2 separate regions of the Homo sapiens genome follow, and region 1 is linked to region 2. The links are contacts of gene promoters, found by promoter capture Hi-C in human tissues and cell types (Jung and others, 2019). All regions are on one chromosome and are shown on one strand. The core of a region is centred on a gene start or on the middle of the fragment in contact, and the rest is flanking DNA. Distances in the headings are between cores, read along the strand shown.

The links. Contacts are between HindIII fragments. The study calls those that stand out against the background at their distance.
Region 1: a contact is called between a fragment that was not itself captured here and the fragment with the promoter of PNKP in region 2, in 1 of the 25 tissues and cell types used here (dorsolateral prefrontal cortex).

Annotation. Positions count from the first base shown.
Region 1 is chr19:50,521,325-50,527,115 of GRCh38, reverse strand. All of the region lies in intron 2 of LRRC4B (leucine rich repeat containing 4B), which reads left to right. The region is part of intron 1 of LOC124904747 (a long non-coding RNA gene); the gene reads right to left. Among named protein-coding and RNA genes, the nearest start is that of ASPDH, 10 kb to the right of the region's middle. The HindIII fragment of the contact is 7,994 bases long and covers 1-5,354 here.
Region 2 is chr19:49,866,326-49,871,929 of GRCh38, reverse strand. PNKP (polynucleotide kinase 3'-phosphatase) reads left to right here and starts at 4,354. Exons shown (of 17, transcript NM_007254.4): 1 at 4,354-4,461; 2 at 4,713-4,876; 3 at 5,485-5,531. The coding sequence starts at 4,726. AKT1S1 (AKT1 substrate 1) reads left to right here. Exons shown (of 5, transcript NM_001098633.4): 3 at 41-118; 4 at 214-383; 5 at 1,870-2,891. The coding sequence ends at 2,013. RefSeq lists enhancers at 1,271-1,918, 4,117-4,898, 4,899-5,604 and silencers at 1,834-2,143, 4,218-4,517, 4,588-4,957. The HindIII fragment of the contact is 3,630 bases long and covers 1,946-5,575 here.

The sequences.
Region 1 (5,791 bases), core at 108-2,607, 660 kb before region 2:
GCTTGCAGTAAGCCGGGATTGTGCCACTGCACTCCAGCCTGGGTGACAGAGCGAGACTCTGTCTCAAAAAAAAAAAAAATACAAAAATACAAAAATTAGCCGGGCGTAGTGGCGTGTGCCTGTAATCCCAGCTACTCATGAGGCTGAGGCAAGAGAATTGCATGAACCCGGGAGCCAGAGGTTGTAGTAAGCCAAGATTGTGCCACTGCACTCCATCCTGGGCAACAGAGTGAGACTCTATCTCAAAAAAAAAAAAAAAGTAAAAGATAATGAAAAAATATATCCCTGCATAATATGCATAGAAAAAATTGGAAGGATGTGCCAAATGATTAACATAAATTAGCTCTGGGTAGATGTATTTTGGCCAATTTTTATTTTCTTCTCATACATTTTTTCCTAAATGAGTATATATTACTTTTTAACAATTTTTTTAATTTTAGAAACACGGTTTCACCTTATTGCCTAGGCTAGTCTGGAACTCCTGACCTCAAGTCATCTGCCTGCCTCGGCCTCCCAAAGTGCTGGGATTACAGGCGTAAGCCACTGCGCCTATCCTTCGTCTATCCTTTTCACTCTGAGGCGGTGGAGTCCTTCATTGCGCAAGACGCCCTGTGGTTGGGACCCAGTCCCTGCCCTCCCTGGAGGCACCTGGACTCTGGGCTCCAGGGAACCCAGCCCCGGGGATCCCTGACCAGACTGGGGTGGGGAGACGGGACCAGGACATCCTCCTGTGTAAGTGACCCTGGAACTAGGTGTTGAAGGACAGATGCAGGGAGGTATCCAGGAAAAAAGCAGGAAAGGTGCAAAGGCCAGAGGCAAGAGTGTGTCTGCTGGGCTCAGGGACTTGCCAGAACAGGAGGTGGGGGAAACAAGTAGAGGAGGAAGGAGAAGGTGGTGCCAGGCGGATGAGCTGCTCCAGGGCAGAGACTGTGTCTTATGGGCTCTCACTGTCATTGTCGCCTTGGTGGCAGCACAGCGGGGCATGGGAGAGTCTTATGCTGGGACTGACGGGCAGTCCTGGGAGGATTGTGAAGGGCCCAGGGGAGGGACAGGGGATCTGTGGGTATAAACAGACTTCTATTTTATTTTATTTTTGAGACTGAGTTTCTCTCTTGTTACCCAGGCTGGAGTACAATGGCGTTATCTCGGCTCACCGCAACCTCGCCTCCTGGGTTCAAACGATTCTGCCGCCTCAGCCTCCCAAATAGCTGGGATTACAGGCATGCGCCCTGCCTAAACAGACCTTTCTAGGGCCTGGTGGGAGAGGCAGAGGGCTGAGGTGCAGCTGGGGCCATTGGCATGGAGAGGAGAGGCTGGAACAGGGAGTCGGAGGACAGGGGGCCAGGATGGGGGCGGCCCTGATTTTCTGCGGGAAAGGATGCAGTCAGACAGTTCTTGCCGGGGAGGGTGGCTCACGTGTGTAATCCCGGCACTTTGGGAGGCCGAGTTGGGCAGATCACCTGAGGTCAGGAGTTCAAGACCAGCCTGGCCAACATGATAAAACCCTCGTCTCTACTAAAAAAAAAAAAAAAAAATACAAAAATTAGCCGGGTGTGGTGGAGGACGCCTGTAATCCTAGCTACTTGGGAGGCTGAGGCAGGAGAATCACTTGAACCCGGGAGGTGGAGGTTGCAGTGAGCCAAGATTACGCCATTGCACTCCAGCCTAGGCAACAAGAGCAAAACTCCCTCTCAAAAAAAAAAAAAAAAGTACGGTTCTTGGCCCTAAGAGCCGCCTTTCAGTGGACGGCTCAGGGCTGTAATCCCAAGGGCATGGTACAAGTTTCTCAACGCCAACGATAACGATAACAATGAGAATGACGACGTGCTGAGCACCCCTGAACACTGGGACCTCATCTCCTCTCCCTCACCCTCTGAAGTGCTTTTCATCATCCTCCTCGTGGTAAGAGTGAGCCCAGAGGTACAGAGAGCTCAAGTGACAGGCCCTACAACCAGGACGGGGGAGGCGGGATTTGAACAGGGCTCTGCTCTTCACACTACACCCGTGACCTCTGTTTCCGTGTCTGTCCACGGGGAACGGCGATGGGTGGGTGTGAGGTGGCCGAGCGAGACGGGGAGGGGCGCAGGCTCCGGCCAGCCCTGCCCAGCTCTGCCATGGAGCAAGCCACTTCTTTAGGCTCCTGTTTCCTCCTTTCTAAAACGGGGCGATCACAGTCCTTGTTCTTAGGGCTGCTGGATGGACAAAAGGTGACTGTGTCCACAGAGCGTCCCTGGGCACCGAGTAAACCCGCAGCATCTCACAGGGCAGCCGCCAGCATCGGGGCTGCTGGCTGGGCTCGGGGACTGCATGCGTTGCTACTGAGAGGTGCCCTGGACGCCCTGGGTGTAAAACACATGTTGGGTTTCCTTGGATTTCGAAGCTCCACCATAAAGAGTGTAAAATGGCTCAATCGCAAGTTTGCATCTGATGACAGGTTCAAATGAGAGTATTTTGGACCTGTTGAGCTAAATAAATATATTAGTAAAGTTGATTTCACCTGTTTGGTTTTTTCTTTATTATTATTTCAATGTGGCTTCTAGGAAATTTAAAATTACACATGTGGGCTGGGTGTGGTGGCTCACACCTATAATCCCAGCACTTTGGGAGGCTGAGACGGGAGGATCGCTTGAGGCCAGGAGTTTGAGACCAGCCTGGGCAACATAGGGAGACCCCATCTCTACAAAAAATTAAAATAAAATAAAATTAGCCAGGTGTGCTGGCACGTGCCTGTAGTCCCAGCTACTCAGGAGGCTGAGGCGAGCAGATCACTTGAGCCCAGACGGTCAAGGCTGCAGTGAGCCGAGACTGCGCCACTGCACTCCAGCCTGGGTGACACAGCAAGACTCTGTCTTAAAACAAAACAACCAAACAAACATTACACACGTGTTCACATTCTATTTCTATTGGACAGCACCGACATACATTATTATTATTTTATGATTCTGCCTATGCCACAGATTCTACCATTTCTTACGCTGTTTGCCTCTCAGGTATATCTGGGTTTGGTTTTGTTTTTATTCCTGCTTACTGTAAAAGTAATTTTTCCTCATTGAGGAAAAAATATCACACAAGAATAAAAATTGTCCATAATTCCCAACAGATAAAGTTCACTACTAAGAAAAGCTTGGAGTATGTCCTTCCAGTTTTTTTTTTTTTTTAGACAGAGTCTCACTCTGTCACCCAGGCTGGAGTGCAACTGGGCGATCTTGGCTCACTGCAACCTCCGCCTCCCGGGTTCAAGAGATTCTCCTGCCTCAGCCTCCCAAGTAGCTGGGATTACAGGCACCTGCCACCATGCCTGACTAATTTTTTGTATTTTTAGTAGAGATGGGGTTTCGCCATGTTGGCCAAGCTGGTCTCGAAATCCTGACCCAGGTGATCCACCTGCCTTGGCCTCTCAGAGTGCTAGGATTACAGGCATGAGCCACCATGCCCGGCCTCTTTTTTGTTTTTAAGATGGAGTCTCACTGTGTTGCCCAGGCCAGAGTGCAGTGGCGCGATCTCGGCTCACTGCAACCTCCGCCTCCCTCTTGCCTCAGTCTCCCGAGTAACTGGGATTACAGGCACCCCCCACCACCCCCGGCTAATTTTTGTATTTTTAGCAGAGACGGAGTTTTATCATGTTGGCCAGGCTGGTCTCAAACTCCCAACCTCAACTGATCTGCCCGCCTCGGCCTACCTAAGTGCTGGGATTACAGGTGTGAGCCACCACGCCCGGCCTCTTTTTCTCTTTTTTCTTTTGGTGCATATACTCTGATACCTAATTCTTCAGCTTCTTTGTGATGACACAGGATGCATCTGAGGTTCTCAGTTTCCTCCGTTAATACTGTAACACCGCATTCCCCCAGTGTCCGTCCCCTTCTCCCTGGCACACACCACTATCTGGGCTTTGCAGATATGATCCAATGGCTGTGTGGCCTTCTGGGCCTCAGTGCACCCGGCGTGGTCATCAGTAGTGAGGACCCTGTGAGCTCCTGCCTCCCGTGCTCTGACCCAGCACTGCCCCTCCCGTGGACCCCAGCTCCAGCCCTGAGAGGCGGCAGCCAGGGTCAGAGGTCAAGAGCCAGGACTCTGGAACCAGAGGGCCTGGATCCAGTCCCAACTCTGCTGTCCACTTCTGTGTGACCTTGGGCAAGTCACTGCACCTCCCTGGGCCTAATTCATCATCCTTCGTGTGAAACTCTTGAGGTCTGATGCGTTTTGACATTCCGATATTAGAAACATAGTAATAGATAGTATAGGTTTTATAATATCTTAGTGGTCTTGAAACATGGGAATTTCTAGAATGAAATGTTTGGATAGTCACGAGTGGGATCAATAAAAGCTTTACTTTCATGTGGCTGGGTGAGGTGGCTCACGCCGGTAATCCCAGCACTTTGGAAGGCCAAGGCGGGTGGATCACCTGAGGCCAGGAGTTCGAGACCAGCCTGGCCAACATGGCAAAACCCTGTCTCTACTAAAAATACAAAAAATTAGCCAAGCGTGTTGATGCGTGCCTGTAATCCCAGCTACTTGTGAGGCTGAGGCAGGAGAATCACTTGAACCCGGCAGGCAGAGGTTGCAGTGAGCCGAGATCACGCCTCTGCACTCCAGGCTGGGCGACAGAGCGAGACTCCATCTCAAAATAAATAAATAAATAAATAAATAAATAAATAATAAATAAAATAGCTTCACATGAGTTCTGATCGGGTTTTGCCACCAAGTGGGATTTGGTGTCAAAGTTTGGAAAAATCTGATTGTTAGGGCCTTAAGAATTTTGGAATTGCAGGTATCGAATAAGGACTGGTAATAGTGCCCATCTCACAGGGCAGTTTGGAGGATTAAAAGAGTTATTACCCACAAAATGTTTAGAACAGTGTCTGGCACCAAAGATGTGTTCAATGTGTCTTAGTTGCTGGTATTACTATTTTCATTTTGTATATTTATTTATTTATTTTGGGGACGGGATCTCCCTCTGTCACGCAGGCTGGAGCTCAGTGGCACGATCACAGTTCACTGCAGCCTTGGCCTCCTGGGCTCAGGCGATCCTCCCATCTTAGCCTTCTGAGTAGCTGGGACCACAGGTGCATGCCATCACACAGGGCTAATTTTCGTATTTGTCTGTAGAGACAGGGGTCTTGCTTTGTTGACCAGGATTGTCTTCAATTCCCGAGCTCAAGTGATCCTCCCACCTCGGCCTCCCAAAGTGCTGGGATTACTGCTGTGAGCCACCATGCCCAGCCTTATTTTTTTCATTTTTAAAACTATGTATAGTGGCCGGGCACGGTGGTTCACGCCTGTAATTTCCCAGCACTTTGGGAGGCCAAGGCAGGCAGATCACTTCAGATTGGGAGTTCAAGAACAGTCTGGCCAACATGGGGAAACCCCGTCTCTACTAAAAATACAAAATTGGCTGGGCACGGTGGCTCACGCCTGTAATCCCAGCACTTTGGGAGGCTGAGGCGGGTGGATCACGAGGTCAGGAGTTCAAGACCAGCCTGGCCAACATGGTGAAACCCCATCTCTACTAAAAATACAAAAATTAGCCAGGCGTGGTGGCACGACCCTGTAATCCCAGCTACTTGGGAGACTGAGGCAGGAGAATCGCTAGAACCTGGAAGGCGGAGGTTACAGTGAGCCGAGATTGTGCAACTGCACTCCAGCCTGGGTGACAGAGCAAGACTCTGTCTCAAAAATAAAATAAAATAAAATAATGTATCACTGGCATGGAATAAAATATCCTCATTTTAAGTGTAGTTTGGGGAGTCCTAACAGTCGCTTTCCGTCATGTAACCACCACGCCAATGTAGCA
Region 2 (5,604 bases), core at 3,105-5,604:
GTGCTGCCTGGCCTGGGCCTCTAACTCAGGTCATCCACAGGGCTCTTTGTGATGGATGAGGACGCCACCCTCCAGGACCTTCCCCCCTTCTGTGAGTCAGACCCCGAGAGTACAGATGGTGAGTGTCCCAGGCTGTTCCCCTCCCGACCTGAGGGCAGGCACACGGCCGACACAAAGGCAGGGACAGAAGCTGAAGTCCACCCTCTCTTTCAGATGGCAGCCTGAGCGAGGAGACCCCCGCCGGCCCCCCCACCTGCTCAGTGCCCCCAGCCTCAGCCCTACCCACACAGCAGTACGCCAAGTCCCTGCCTGTGTCTGTGCCCGTCTGGGGCTTCAAGGAGAAGAGGACAGAGGCGCGGTCATCAGATGAGGAGAATGGGCCGGTGAGGGGCAAATGTGGGGAGGTAGGGAGGGCAGCTGGAAGGGCTCTGAGCCGCCTCCTCCAGGAAGCCCTCCAGCATGGATGCTGCTTTCCACCCATAAGCTAACTGAATCCTCCCCTCAACCTCAAGAGGCGAGTTCTTGGACACGAGCCTTGCAGTTTTAACAATTGCAGCCTTACCATGTGTCCTAGTGCCTTATAGAGAAGGCCTCTCCTTTCCAGGAGCGTCTCTATTTATAGAACACCTGCTCTGGGCAAGGCACAGGTGTTTTGGCATGCCCTCCAGTGGAGAAACTGAGGCTTGGAGGGTTCAGATCACCTCCCATCCCCACCCTGCACATTCCTAGCCCTTTGCAGAATTTGTCCCACCCCCTGGTCCCCTGTTCACCCCTTGTAGCAACCCCTGTTTGAAGCTCCTGGGCTGGGCTCTGCTGGCCTAGGTGGGTCCTCCTCACCCTTCACTGAGCCTCCCTGAAGCAGAGGGGAAACTGAGGCACTGAGGGGACATGTGACTTCCCTGAGAGGCAGAGCTGGGACTGGAACCCAGGTGTGTTTCAGGAAGGAGCTGTGGGCTTTGAGGGAGGAGGCCTGGGTCCCCACAGTCCCCCCCTCAAGCCTCAGTGTCCTTATATGCAAACCAGCAGTCACAGTGGTGACCTTTTCTGTGCATCCTCCCTCAATGAAGCAGTGAGCACTGAAGACCAGGAACAGGGCCTGGTGCGGGCGGGGTCCACCTGCTGCTGCTCTCTGTGCTTGCGACTCATGGCAACACAGTTAATTGAATGCTCTGGCCTCTTGCGTGCTGTGCCCGGGGGCTGGTCTCCCACTGGGCTCAGGTCCAGTTCCTGATCTGGGTCTCCGGGTCCCATCCTGCGAGGGGACAGGCCCAGCTCCGGGTGACGGGGGCTGTAGTGGAGGCAGTACTAGGTGCCAGAACTGCAGGCTCCTTGGCGGGGGCTGACACAGCGAGGGATCTTTTCTGTAGCGCAGTGGCCACATGATAAGGCAGTAACAGCTGATTATCTCAGCCCTCACAGAGACCCTGTTATCCGCCCCATTTTTCAGAAGGGGAGACTGAGGCCTAGGGAAGCAAAACCTCTTGCTCATAGTTTGTCAGCGGCAGAGGTCTGATTGGAACATGACTGAAACCCCAGCCCAGATCCTCAGACATGAGACGGTGCACTCAGCCTTAATGGCTAGCAGGCAACAGCACTTCCACTGTGTAGGAAGCAATGTCCTAGGCCAAGAAGGGGAGAGGGAGAGGGGCAGGTAGGCTTCGTGGAGGAGGTGTCTGAACCGGGTAGAAGGGTTCCTACGTGGAGCAAGACGGGGAGGGGCACTGCTGGCAGTGGGCATCGCAGGGCACAGGTGGCAGGGCAGGGACGTGCTAGAAGTGGGCTTGGAGCCCGGGTGCACCCCTGGACCGCGTGTGGGTGCAGGGGGATTGCCCTGCCGGCGCTGACCTCGCCCCGTCGCCGTCCCCGCAGCCCTCTTCGCCCGACCTGGACCGCATCGCGGCGAGCATGCGCGCGCTGGTGCTGCGAGAGGCCGAGGACACCCAGGTCTTCGGGGACCTGCCACGGCCGCGGCTTAACACCAGCGACTTCCAGAAGCTGAAGCGGAAATATTGAAGTCCAGGGAGGGAGCGCCCCGGGCCGCGTCCGCCCCGTCCCACACTACGCCCCCGCCCCACTCCCGGGGCCTGCTAATCTGAGGCCGATCCGGGACCGGCCTCCTTGCGTCTCCCATTCCCAAGATTGTCCCGCCTCTGCCAATCCCCGCCGTCCTTCCAGCCCACGACCTGCCGCGCCGAGGAGCGGCATCTGTCCCGTTTCCCGATTGGGTCTGTCGTCTCTCTCCGCCTAGCGACAGATTCCTTCTATTAAGGGATTGGCTCGCTGAGTTCTAAGCTCTAAATGGGTCAACTCCTTTGTTTTCCGCCTAGCGACAAGGGATTTGCTCGCACGGCATTGGCTCCATCCCCTAGTCGCTGGACAGCTCTTTTTTTGATTGGCTCAAATCCTGTAAAGGGCTTGACCAGTCTCTACATAGTCACCGTCCGCTTTTCCTGAGTTCTCCCTCCCAATTGGCTCCAGCTTCCTGGGGGCGTGGCCAAGCCCTCCTCTTCCCAGAATTGGCCCGGGGCCTTCAATTTACGTTCTTTACACTACGGGGACTGGGGTCGTCTTTGCCCACGTCCCGACAACTTGTTCCCTGACCCCCTCAGGGATGGCCCCAAACTGTCCCTGCCTCTGGCACCCCCTTTCATTGGTTCCATCCATCCCCACAACAGCCTGCCAATCGAAGCCCGTCCCTGCATCCAGGATGGTACCAGCTCCCGCCCCTCGCCCCCCACCTCCACAGGTGCCTTAAAGGGCCCTCGTCCACCCAAGGTGGGGGGCAGGGGCCCTCACTCTCCGGCCCTGGTGTGGGGGAGAGAGTGAGGGGTTGGGGGATCGGCAGTTGGGAGGGGCGCTCTGAGATTAAAGAGTTTTACCTCTGAGATAAATGTGAAGTGTGTTGTGAGTGTTCATTCAACATTTTCTGAAACCGAATGGCAGCGTCTGATTATCAGTGAATAGCTGGGGGTTGGAATTACTGTGCCCATTTTATTTACTTTTTTGAGACAGGGTCCCACTCTCGCCCAGGTTCAAGCGATTCTCCTGCCTCAACCTCCCGAGTAGCTGGGATTACGCGCCACTGCCGCCCGGGTAATTTTTGTATTTTCAGTAGAAACAGGGTTTCATCATGTTGGTCAGGATGGTCTTGAACTCCTGACCTCAAATGATCCACCCGCCTTGGCCTCCCAAAGTGCTGGGATTACAGGCGTGAGCCACGGCGCCTGGCTTTGTGCCCATTTTATAGATATGAAGACACAGGTTCATGGGGTGGAGGAGAGCATCCCAGTCTTATGTGACCATGGAACCCAATCTTGAGGAGGTGAGTGTTGGAGACAGAGCCCACATATTCACCAGCAAAGCCAGGAACTCCAGCCGGGAGTCTTCTATTATAAAAGGACTGGAGCAACTGGGCTTGGTGCCTCACGCCTATAAGCCCAACACGCTGGGAGGCCAAGGCGGGAGGATCACATGACACCAGGAGGTCGAGATCAGCCTGGGCAGCACAGTGAGACCCCTTCTCCAAAGGGAAAAAAAAATGGCTGGAGGTTAGAAAGCAGGTGGAACCTCGTCCGAAATTAGGACTAGGTAAACGTAGTCCCACCAGACCACTACCGAAAGAATGCTAACACTAAATAAGACTTAAACGGATCTGAGCACTTTGGGAGGCCGAGGTGGGCGGATCACGAGATCAGGAGATCGAGACCGTCCTGGCTAACACGGTGAAACCCCGTCTCTACTCAAAATACAAAAAATTAGCTGGGCGTGGTGGCGGGCGCCTGTAGTCCCAGCTACTCGGGAGGCTGAGACAGGAGAATGGCGTCAACCCGGGAGGCGGAGCTTGCAGGTGAGCCGAGATCGCGCCACTGCACTCCAGCCTGGGCGACAGAGTGAGACTCCGTCTCAAAAAAAAAAAAAAAAAAAGACTTAAACAGGGCTCACTACCACCCATTTTTTAAAGCTTTTGTCACGTGTTAGCTCCTTTAATCGTCATGGTAACCCCACGAAGCGGAAACGATTATCCTTTTTATAGATGAGGAAACTAGAACATCGAGGGTGAAGCCAAAGAAGGACTTAGGGGCGCTGTCGGGGGCGGAGGTTTCCTCGACTGACAATGACCATCAGATGGGAAAAAAATCTTCCTCCCTGGGATGAAAATTAGAAGTCAAGGTGGAAAGAGGCAAATCTGCTAACGGAGGATCCAGTCCCCGCTACCGGCCTGAGCCTCGCGTTGCAGCAAGAGAGATGAAGGTCAGGGCTGCCGAGAGACCCTGGGGGCCGGGAGTCGGGGAAGGGGCGTGGCTGCTGTGGGAGGAGGCCAGGCCCCGCCCCCCACCCACGAGGGGACGAGTCATTTCCGTCCGCCGAGGAACCGACCGCCGCCGGCCGGGTTGCAGGCGGGGCACCTCGGGCAGGACCTCCCTGGTCGGAAGTGGCCGTGAGCCCAAGCCGCGGTCCCGGGTGAGTACGGGGCGGGGCGGAGGCATGTGCGAGGCTCTCTGCCTGTACGCTGGAAAGTGGGGATTGCAACTCGGGGAGGGATGGAGCACGCGTCGTCGCCTGGGAAACGGGTCGACCCGCGGAAGGCGAGCGGGTGGGACTTCCGGAGCAGTTAATGGTGGGGAAACTTTCTAGTGGATGTGGGAGGAGGCGGGACTTCCTGCAGCAAATTGGGGCTGTGCGCCGCTCAAGCCCGTTTACCTGCTCCCCAGGCCGGCACCCAGGATGGGCGAGGTGGAGGCCCCGGGCCGCTTGTGGCTCGAGAGCCCCCCTGGGGGAGCGCCCCCCATCTTCCTGCCCTCGGACGGGCAAGCCCTGGTCCTGGGCAGGGGACCCCTGACCCAGGTTACGGACCGGAAGTGCTCCAGAACTCAAGGTGAGCGGGGCCTGAGCTGGAGGGGGTGTGGCCTGCTGCAAAAGCGGGAACAATCCAGAGGGACGCTTGGCTGCTACGCGGGATTGCAGTGGTGCAGCCAGCCCCGAAGTCGGAAGGTGCTCTCTAGGGAGTACAGGAAGATAAAGTTTGTGCTTGATTTAGAATTAGCTAGATCCTTTGGGGGAGAGGGGATCGAGCCGATTTAGGGAGGATGTTCACTGCGCGGATGATGCTCAGGCCATCGGGAAATCCAGAAACAGGCGACGACCTTCGTCAAGAGAAAAATGATCCTGTGGAGAAAAGTAAATGTCGCTAGGTTGGGATGGATGGTAACAGGCCAAGCCCCGGACCTATATCTAGCCACATTTTTTGTCAAGGAGGAAACCAATTCTGTAGAGAAAAGTACCTCCCTGTCCCTTGCAAGGACCAGTGTCAGGCAATCCTAGTGCCACTATCTGGCTACTGCATGTCAAGGAGCCAATCCCATGTAGAAATAAACTGCCTCTTACTCCCTGGATGCTATAGCCTGAAGCAGGCCACACTCCCCAGAAATGAGGGACCCAATCACACAAGGATGCAAATCCTGACTCCACCCCTCCAATCCTCAGTGGAGCTGGTCGCAGATCCTGAGACCCGGACAGTGGCAGTGAAACAGGTATCAGTGCCTCTGCAAGGGCCAGCAAGGCCTGGGGATGGGATTTGGGGAGGAATTGCAAGCCGTCAGTGAA